2 separate regions of the Homo sapiens genome follow, and region 2 is linked to region 1. The links are contacts of gene promoters, found by promoter capture Hi-C in human tissues and cell types (Jung and others, 2019). All regions are on one chromosome and are shown on one strand. Each heading gives the region's core, a stretch centred on a gene start or on the middle of the fragment in contact. The rest is flanking DNA. Distances are from core to core; before and after follow the strand shown.

Region 1 (5,248 bases), core at 1,685-4,184:
TTTATTTGCCAATACAGATCAATTCAATCTGTCATCATTTAAACCACTAATGGATGATGTATAAGTCAAACAAAAGGGACAAGCATGAAAGTAGACTGCTTCTCTAACACCTGAACATTTTCCTTTTAATATACAAGCATTCTTGCACACAGTTCATAAAACTGCTAGGCTGCTGATTCAGTGTTCTGTTTAACAGATGAGTTTTAACTACTTAAAAAAAAAACAAACTCTGCTTTCTACAACTATCTGATCTTCGACAAACCTGACAAAAACAAGCAATGGGGAAAGGATTTCCTATTTAATAAATTGTGCTGGGAAAACTGGCTAGCCATATGCAGTAAACAGAAACTGGACTCCTTCCTTACACCTTATGCAAAAATTAACTCAAGATGGATTAAAGACTTAAATGTAAAACCCAAAACCATAAAAAACCTAAAAGAAAACCTAGGCAATACTATTCAGGACATAGGCATGGGCAAAGTCTTCATGACTAAACACCAAAAGCAATGGCAACAAAAGCCAAAACTGACAAATGGGATCTAACCTAAGAGCTTCTCCACAGCAAAAGAAACTCTTCAGAGTGAACAGGCAACCTACAGAACGGGGTAAAATTTTTGCAATCTACCCTTCTGACAAAGGTCTAATATCCAGAATATAGAAGGAACTTAAACAAATTTACAAGAAAAAAACAACCCCATCAAAAAGTGGCCAAAGGAAATGAACAGACACTTCTCAAAAGAAGACATTTATGCAGCCAACAACATATATTAAAAAAAAAGCTCATCATCACTGGTCATTAGAGAAATGCAAATCAAAACCACAATGAGATACCATCTCACATCAGTTAGAATGGTAATTATTAAAAAGCAAGGAAACAACAGATGCTGGAGAGGCTGTGGAGGAATAGGAACGCTTTTACACTGTTGGTGGGAGTGTAAATTAGTTCAACCATTGTGGAAGACAGTGTGGCGATTCCTCAAGGATCTAGAACCAGAAATAACATTTGACCCGGTGATCCCATTACTGGGTATATACCCAAAGGACTATAAATCATTCTACTATAAAGACACATAAACGTGTATGTTTATTGCAGCACTATTTACAATAGCAAAGACTTGGAACCAACCCAAATGCCCATCACGGATAGACTGAATAAAGAAAATGTGGTACAGATACACCATGGAATACTACGTAGCCATAAAAAAGAATGAGTTCATGTCCTTTGCAGGGACATGCATAAAGTGGGAAGCCATCATTCTCAGCAAACTAACACAAGAACAGAAAACCAAACACCGCATGTTCTCACTCATAAGTGGGAGTTGACAATGAGAACACATGGACACAGGGAGGGGAACATCACACACCTCACACATCGGGACCTGTCGGGGCGGGTGGGGGGCAAGAGGAGGGAGAGCATTAGGACAAATACCTAATGTATGTGGGGCTTAAAATCTAGATGACGGGTTGATAGGTGCAGCAAACCATCATGGCACATGTATACCCATGTAACAAACCAGAACGTTCTGCACATGTATCCCAGAACTTAAAGTAAAATAAAATTAAAAAACAAAAACAAAACAAAACAAAAACTTGGCCGGGTGCAGTGGCTCACGCCTGTAATCCCAGAACTTTGGGAGGCCGAGGCAGCTGGATCACCTGAAGGTCAGAAGTTCGAGACCAGCCTGGCCAACATGGTGAAACCCCCATCTCCACTAAAAACACAAAAAATTAGCTGGGCGTGTAATCCCAGCTACTCGGGAGGCTGAGGCAGGAGAATCGCTTGAATCCGGGAGGCAGAGGTTGCAGTGAGCCGAGATGGCGCCATTGCACTCCAGCCTGGGCAACAAGAGTGAAACTTCGTTTCAAAAACAGCAACAACAACAAGAACAACAACAAGAAGAACAAAAACTCTGCTTTTAAAAGTATTTTAAGTCCAGTGTGAAAAACCTAGAAGTCACAGCAAAGGCCGCTAAGAAACTTACCATTACTCATGACCCCTCTTACTACTGACCTTGAAAATCACTTGCCCTTCTCCAAGGCCCCGCCAGCTTCATGGGTCTCTTCCTGAACCTCCTCCCTAGTTCCAGGGCTTGGCCTAAGTCTCACAGAGCAGAAAGAAACGTGGCCACCCTTCCTCACGTGAGTCCTGTGCAAACATACAGCCCCACACAGAGCTCCTAACAATGGGGCATCAGTACCCAGGCACGATCGATGATTATGAACCCAACGCGATCAGAGACTCCCACATGGTGTGTGTGACTGCGCGCACAGGCGGGAGGAAAGGGGCGAATCTGCAAAACGAGTACAACAGATAAAATTCGCAACAGACTTCTACACCCTTTCAATCAACCGTCCCAAGCGCCACGAACGCGGGTCCCGCTCCGTGGGGGGCCGCAGCCACACTGGCAGGAGGGAATCCTGGGCCTCGACCAGACGCCGGCGGCGTCAGGAGAAACGGCCCGCGCTGGGCAGGCGGCGGGCACCGCGTAGCTCATTACCACGGGGGGCCCCGGCCAAGGCCGCCCGCCTCAGGCCGAGCCTTGGGGCTGTGCTGGACCCGGGCCCTCGTTCGCACGGCGCCCGCGCCGCCGCCGTCGGGAAACCGGGTTTTCAAGCGTTCGGCCCAGCGGGCGCTGTATTTTAGGGCGTGACCCCCGCCCCGCCCTCGAGGGCGACCGGAAGAGCAGGCACCACAGCAGATGCGCCGAGTCTGCGCCCCGCACCGCGAGGAGCACCCGAGGCCGCGCTCCCGGAGCCGGGTCTGGTGACTAAGGCGCGGGTCGCGACGCAGGGGCGGCCCCGGACTCTCGACCCCACCAGCCGCCTGAATGTCCCGCCGGACGCCCGGGCCGGCTCACCTGGGAGGCGCCTCCGCCGTCCGCCCGCGCGGGGCCAGGAGCGCGGCACCACCCCCGTACCGCCGGCCGCTCTTTGTGTCTGGAGGCCGCGACGCAACACTCCTCCCGGCCTCGAGGCACCGCCCCCTCGGTGTCCCGGCGCAGTGGGCGAACAGGGGGCGGGGCGAGCGAACGGGAGAGGGGGCGGGTCGGGTCCGGGATTGCGGGGCGGGGTGGGGGCAAGGCGGCCTCCGCAAATCTCAGGGCGGCTCTGGCCAGTTTGGAGCCTGGGGTGACCCTTGGAGCTGACCTCGCTGGTCCCTGTCGGAGCCCTGCGCGCTGCGGAGCTTGGCGGTTCGCAGCTCTCGGGGTAGCATCTTCTGGAAACAAGCCCGGAGGCCGGCCAGGCAGGGGTAATACCCCAAACCCACCACTGAGGAAACCGCGACTTAAAACCTAGGTCGTCACGTTTCCACCGCATATTAAATCAATACGGGTTGAGCATCCCTAATCCAAACATCTGAAATCCGAAATGCTTCAAAATCTGAAAGTTTTTGAGCGCTGACCTGATGCTCAAAGGAAATGCACATTGGAGCACTTCTTTTTTCTTCTTTTAACTTTCTTTTCTTTTGAGAAAGGCTGTCACTTCTGCTGCCCAGCCTGGGATGCAGTGGCGCGGTCATGGCTCACTACAGCCTCGACTTTCCCGGCTATGGCGATCCTCCCGCCTCAGCGTCCCAACCCCCAGTAGCTGGGACTGCAGGCATCTGCCACCATGTCCGCTAATTTTTGTATTTTTAGCACAGAGTCTCACTGTGTTGCCCAGGCTGGTCTCGAACTCCTAGGCTCAAGGGATGGATCCACCGCCTCGGCCTCCCAAAGTGCTGGGATTACAGGCGTGAGCCACCGCGCCCGGCCTGTATTTTTTTAAGAGAGGAGGCTTCACCATGTTGCCCAGGCTGGTCTGGAATTTCTGGCCTCAAGTGATCCTCCCACCTTGGCCTCCCATAGTGCTGGGATTACTGGCATGAGCCACCGCACCTGGCCTCATTGGAGCATTTCTAATTTTGGATTTTCAGATTAGGGGTGTTCAATTGGTATAATGCAAATATTCCAAAATCTGAAATCCTAAATGCTTCTGGTGCCAAGCATCTCGGTTAAGGGATATTCAACCTGTATATATTTATCGAACACCTACTAGGGCCAGGCATTGTCCTAGGGGCTGCCAACAGCGGTGCAAAAAATCCCTGGCCCTTATAGAGTTTACACAGAAAACAATTTAAAAACGTAAATACCCGGCCGGGCATAGTGGCTCATGCCTGTCATCCCAGCACTTTGGGGGGCTGAGGCAGGCGGATCACCTGAGGTCGGGAGTTCAAGACCAGCCTGACCAACATGGAGAAACCCCGTCTCTACTAAAAATACAAAATTAGCCGGGCGTGATGGCATATGCCTGTAATCCCAGCTACTCAGGAGGCTGAGACAGGAGAATCGCTTGAATCTGGGAGGCGGAGGTTGTGGTTATCAAGCCACTGCACTCCAGCTTGGGCGACAGAGTGAGACTCCATTTCAAAAAAAGAAAAAAAAAAGTAAATACAGCCAGGCACGGTGACTCATGCCTGTAATCCCAGTAGTTTGGGAGGCCACTGTGGGCAGATTGCCTGAGGACAGGAGTTCGAGACCAGCGTGGCCAACATGGTGAAACCCAGTGTCTACTGAAACACAAAAAAATTAGCCAGTTGTGGTTAACGCGCGCCTGTAGTCCCAGCTACTCGTGAGGCTGAGGCACAAGAATTGCATGAACCCAGGAGTCGGAGGTTGCAGTGAGCTGAGATCTTGCCACTAGACTCCAGCTTGGGCGACAGAGCAAGACTCTGTCTCCAAAAAATAAAAATAAAAACATAAATATACAAAAATGTCAGAGAGTTATATCAGAATTACAAAATGAGCTACAGTACACTGTAGCATGAGAAAGGTGCATATACTTTGTAGGAACTCCACTTTAGAGGATGTGAGGATCAGAGGCAAAATGGGGTGAGAAGGAAGCAGGATGAAAGACAGGCTATGGGGGAACGGAGTTTCCAAGGGCGAGTGAAATTTCCAAGTGCCTGCAAGTGCTAAACCCCATGCAGAGCAAAAGGCAAACACAGGGAGTGGTTCAGAGACGCTCATAGTGTGTTCTAGGCTGGGAGGTTTCTCTGACCTGCTGAATGTGCCCAGATACCTTTTGCTATGCCCATGACCTGTCCCAACCAGTGTGGGGCACAATGGCAGGACACACCGTGCAAAGGTGGTCCCTGTGGGATGCGCAGCCAAGACCCCGATGACTCCAGTTTATAACCCTGGATTCCCAGGGGTGCTCAGAGCCATGGGGGCTGCCATTGTGAAGAATGTCTTCTCTTCAGTGCTCC
Region 2 (5,248 bases), core at 1,629-4,128, 63 kb before region 1:
TTTCCATCTGGAATAATTTTCCAACTATTTAAAATACATCTTTAGAACTTTGTTTTTCTTGAATATGCCAGTGCCAAATATTTTGTCTAACATGTTTTTATTTTACATTAATTCTTTTTTTACAAAGAAATAATTTATAACTTATAAATTATCCTTTTAGAATAGTGGAAATGACTCTGCTGTCCATTTAAACAGAATGGATAAACAAATTGATACAGGCATAGTCATACAATGAAATACCTGACAATGAAAAAGAACAAACCACTAATAGACACAGTAACACGAATGTATCTCAGAGACATACTATGGAGTAAAGAAGCCAGAGAATGGCCGGGTGCGGTGGCTCTTGCCTGTAATCCCAGCACTTCGGGAGGCAGAGGCAGGGTGATTGCTTGAGCTCAGGAGTTGGAAACCAGCCTGGGCAACATGGTGAAAAAAAATACAGTAATTAGCCGGGCATGGCGGCATGTGCCTGTAGACCCAGCTACCTGGGGGGCTGAGGCAGGAGGATTGCTTAAGCCCAGGAGGTCGAGGCTACAGTGAGCCAAGATCATGCCTGGGTGACGAAGTGAGACCCCGTCTCAAAAAAAAAAAAAAAAAAAAAAAAAAAAAGGCCAGAGAGTATGTATTGTGTATTAAAATGCAGAATTTAAAATTCAGAAACAGGAAAAAAAAATCTCTGATGTTGGTGTCCAGGCAGTGGTTGACCTTTGGTAGTAGAGGAACCAAAAAGAGACATGATGAGGGATAAGGGTGTGATGGTTACACAGGTGCGCTCAGTTTGGAATATTCACTGACCTGTACACTTGGACACATGGCTCTTTTCTCTAGGTACGCTTCAGTGAAAGTCACACAGAAAGAAATCAACAGAAGGGCTATTAGGCTGGTCAAAATATCACCACTAAGTGTTGGAGAAGAAGGTTTGGGGCCATAGGTCCAAGCATGCTTCCAAAATCTGACCAAGAATTTGCATGAGCACACCTCTGTTGCTGCCATTGAATGCAAAATGTGGCTGTTTCTTTGCAGACACCTCTGCCTGGGACACACATGTATTACTATCTGACATTAAATTATACATGCATTTGCTTATTTTCTGCCCCCCAGTTAAAATGTGAGCTCACTTTTGGCATATAGTAGGGACTCAACAAATATTTATTGGGTGTCTTTGCCTCTGTATCCTTTCACTGCTAACCAGAACTCTCCTTCTCACAGAGGCATTCTTTCACCTTTATTCTTAAAGGATATTTTTACTCGGTATGAAATTCAGGTTGACAGTTATTTTCTTCTAGCATATTGAAGATATCTTTCCACCGTCTTCTGACTTCTACTGTTGCATTACAGAAAGCAACGGTCAATCTAACTATGGCTCACTTTTAGGATATGTCTTTTCTCTAGCTTCCCTTTTAAAATTATTAAACTTTTCATCTTGAGATCATTATAGATCCATATGCAGTTATAAGAAAAATACAAAGAGATCCTGTGTACCCACTTCTGGCTGTTTTTAAGATATTCTCTCTGGCTTTGTTTTCCTTCAGTTTCACATAATACGCCAGGTATAGATGTCTCTTTATCCTGCTTGGAATTCCATGGGCTTTTGGAATCCCAAGAAGTATGTTTCTGTCCTGAAAATGTTTTAGCTATTACTTCTTCACATAATGCCCCTCCAGCATTCACTTGTTTCCTCCCAGGACTCCAGTTAAAGGGATGCTGGACTTTCTCACTCCATCTGTACCACCTCTTTTTATATCTTCATGCTGCATTCTGGATGACTCCAGTTAATGAATGGTCTCTTCAGCTGTGTCTAATCTGCTGTTAAATGCTTCTATTTAGTTTTAAATTTTGGTGATCATACTTTTCAGTTCTAGACATTTTATTTGGTTCATTGTTCAGATTTGTTACTTCACTTTTCAGAGTTCTTTTAGATATTTTTTAAGCTCTAAAAAAATCTCTAATATAGTAACCATAGTTGTTTTATATTTTGTGTCTAACAATTCTAATATCTCACATATTTGCGGGTGTGCTTCCATTGTCAGTTGTTTCTGCTAGTTCTTGCTCATCTGTCTTGTTTGTTTGCCCAGCTTTCCTTTATCATATGCTGGTCATTGTATTTGGCTATTATTTAGGAAAAATTTCAGATTTGGGATGGTGGCACTTTTATTGTTTGCTTTGGCTAGGTGCCTATCCATGCAGTGCCAGTAATCTAAGTGCAGGATTTGAGATTATCTAGTGTACTGAGGGATATAAGACCAGACCACAAAGCAGTATAATGACTGACTGCAATTCATCTTTACCCTACAGGTCTTACCCTTCAGGATTCTTCCTTAAATTTGGGGTTGGTTTGTCAACCCTGGGTTTCTACCTTGAATGACTCCGGGTTTTGACATATGTTTCTGGGGCTCTTTGAGGCCCCCAAGGTCACAGATCAATTTCTCAGTTGCTTACTTAAAATCACAAAATATTCTCAGGGAAAATGGGCTTTTGTGTGCTAAGCTTACCTCTCTGGGTACTTAATTTACTACACTTTTTTTTTGTTTGTTTCTGAGACAAGATCTCACTCAGGCTCAATCACAGCTCACTGCAGCTTCAATCTCCCAAGCTCAAGTGATCCTCCACCTTGGCCTCCTGAGTAGGTGGGTCTACATGTGTGTACCACCACCCCCAGCTAATTGTTTTTTATTTTTAGTAGAGACAAGGTCTGGCTATGTTGCCCAGACTGGTCTTGAACTCCTGAGCTCAAGTGATTCTCCTGCCTTGGCCTACCAAAGTACTGGGATTACAGACCTGAGCCACCATGCCAAGCCTATCGCAGATTTTTTGACTGGCAATTTCTCACTGATTTATTTGCTCTTTACTGTTTTCAAAATATTTGTTTTTATTATTTTGTTCAGTTTTTCTAGTAGTCCTCCTTGAAAGCTTGGCCTGAGTTAGCTCACTTGCCACTATCAGAACATCTGAACTGCTTCTTCCTTTTTTTAGGGCTGCAAAAAGATTTCAACAAATGGAGCTACCAGGATTATTTAACCAATCCCATACTGAAAAAGCTGTTTCCACATTTTTCCTATCTGAATCAATGCTAGAATGCATACCTTGAATGCATGTCCTTTCACATGAAGATAGAAACTGTGAGTCTTTCCTCCTTGCATCCCTAGCATCTGGTGTTGCCTAGCACATAATAAGTCCCTCAAAAATAGTTGTCAAATACTAAACGAATGATGAAATTGCAATTTTGCTCATTCTAATCACAGATTCTTTTGTGTTGTTGGTAATAATTGCCAGCTGACTTTCTTCCATCCATCAAAGAGCAGTGGGATCAGATGGCCCAGTCTGGTGCCATTTCAGTCTGATACCATCTTGACCACACTTGTCTGTTTTCTTGTGTCCTTCTTTACAGTTCACAAAAGGCGAGCGGCAACCCCATATATTCAGGTATTTTACCAATAAGATACACCATCCCATCTCTGCATGATCTTAGACTCATTCATCACAAAGTAAAGAGGCTGCAATGTGTGATCTAGAGGTACTTTCAACTTCAAATTACAATTGTCTCTCAGTATCCCTGGGGGATTGGTTCCGGGACCCTTGGCAGATACCAAACTCCACAGATACTCAAGTCCTTTGTATAAAATGTAGTATTTGCATATAACCTATGCTCATCCTCCTGTATGTTTTAAATTAGCTCTAGATTACTTATAATAGCCAATACAATGTAAATACTATGTAAATAGTTTTAGGCTGCATTGTTTAGGAAATAGTGAGAAGAAAAAGGTCCATACCTGTTCAATAGAGATGTGACCATCCTTTCTTTTTCTGAATATATATATATGAGAGAATATATATATATGAGAGAATATATATATATATATGAGACAAGGTCTCATGCTGTTGCCCAGGCTGGAGTGCAGTGACACAATCACACCTCACTACAGCCTCAAACTCCTGGGCTCAAGCAATCCTCCCAGCTCAGCCTCACAAGTAGCTGGAATTACAGGTGCATGCCACCACATCCAGCTACCTTTAAGATTCTTCTGTAGAGACGAGGTCTCACTCTGTTGCCCAGGCTAATCTTGAACTCCTAGACTTAAGCAATCCTCTCACATTGGCCTCCCAAAGTGCTGGGATTACATGTGTGAGCCACCGCACCTGGCCTGTTTCATTTTTATGAGATTTCTGTATCAGTAACGTTTATATAATATCATATATGATAGTTACTACAAGGACTGGATATGTAGTATTTGTTTGTTTGCTTGTTTTTTTGAGATGGAGTCTTGCTCTGTCGCCCAGGCTGGAGTGCAATGGCGCGATCTTGGCTCACCGCAACCTCCACCTCCCGGGTTCAAGTGATTCTCCTGCCTCAGCCTCCTGAGTAGCTGGGATTACAGGTGCGTGCCACCACGCCGGCTAATTTTGTATTTTTATTAGAGATGGGGTTTCACCACATTGGTCAGGCTGATCTCCACCTCCCGAACTTGTGATCCACCTGCCTTGGCCTCCCAAAGTGCTGGGACTACAGGTGTGAGCCACTGCGCCTGACCCAGATATGTAGTATTTGAACTGAAAAGCCAATCCATTCTCCTGGATAAAGGGTTTATCTTGGTTTTGAGACTCCCTGAAATCTCTACCATTGGGTTTCTTGTAGAAAAACTGGGACACCTATACGGATATTTCTGACTTGATACCGCTTCCCTTAAATCTCTGTATGACGTTCCACCTATAGGGGCTGTGGGAGCTCTGCCCTGTCTGTGGTATGAAGCAGAGAAGCAAGCAGAGCCTGAAAAGAAAAATGGTCCACCATGACCAACCATCTCCGAGGAGACAGGATGAAGGGACAGGCAGGGAGAGGTGAACGCTAGGCATCTGCAGCACCAGCAGGGTGCTCTCGAAATGTTACAGAGAGAAGAGAAAGGATAACGTCAGAGCAGAGTCGAGAGCACTAGTGCAAACAAAGTGACTTCTTAGTTTATCTAACATCTGACTTGCTTTCTGGGAAGCATGGCTGTAGGAGGGGATGGAGCTGGGACAGACGGAAGGACGATGGCTGGACACGCATGGCTATCCCAGGGGGAGCTGAGTCAGAAAGGGCCCGGCTCCTGCCACTGCTTGTGGTACCCAACTTTCTTCTCATCCCCTCCCCACACACATATGAGAAGCCTCAGGCCTCCTGAAAGGAAATTCCATCTCAGATGAGCCGCTTTTCAGGGTGCGTGTGACAGGGTTCCAGTCAGAAATCTCATGTAACCCAAGCGAATTT

What was found. The method cuts DNA at HindIII sites, captures the fragments that hold promoters and counts their contacts. A contact is called where the count stands out against the background at its distance.
Region 2: a fragment that was not itself captured here is called in contact with the fragment with the promoter of NINL in region 1 in 4 of the 25 tissues and cell types used here (hippocampus, mesenchymal stem cells, spleen and 1 more).

Annotation. Positions count from the first base shown.
Region 1 is chr20:25,582,597-25,587,844 of GRCh38, forward strand. It overlaps NINL (ninein like), which reads right to left and starts at 2,935. Exons shown (of 24, transcript NM_025176.6): 1 at 2,859-2,935. RefSeq lists a silencer at 2,870-2,999. The HindIII fragment of the contact is 43,094 bases long and covers 1-5,248 here.
Region 2 is chr20:25,519,407-25,524,654 of GRCh38, forward strand. All of the region lies in intron 2 of NINL (ninein like), which reads right to left. Among named protein-coding and RNA genes, the nearest start is that of NINL, 64 kb to the right of the region's middle. The HindIII fragment of the contact is 4,223 bases long and covers 768-4,990 here.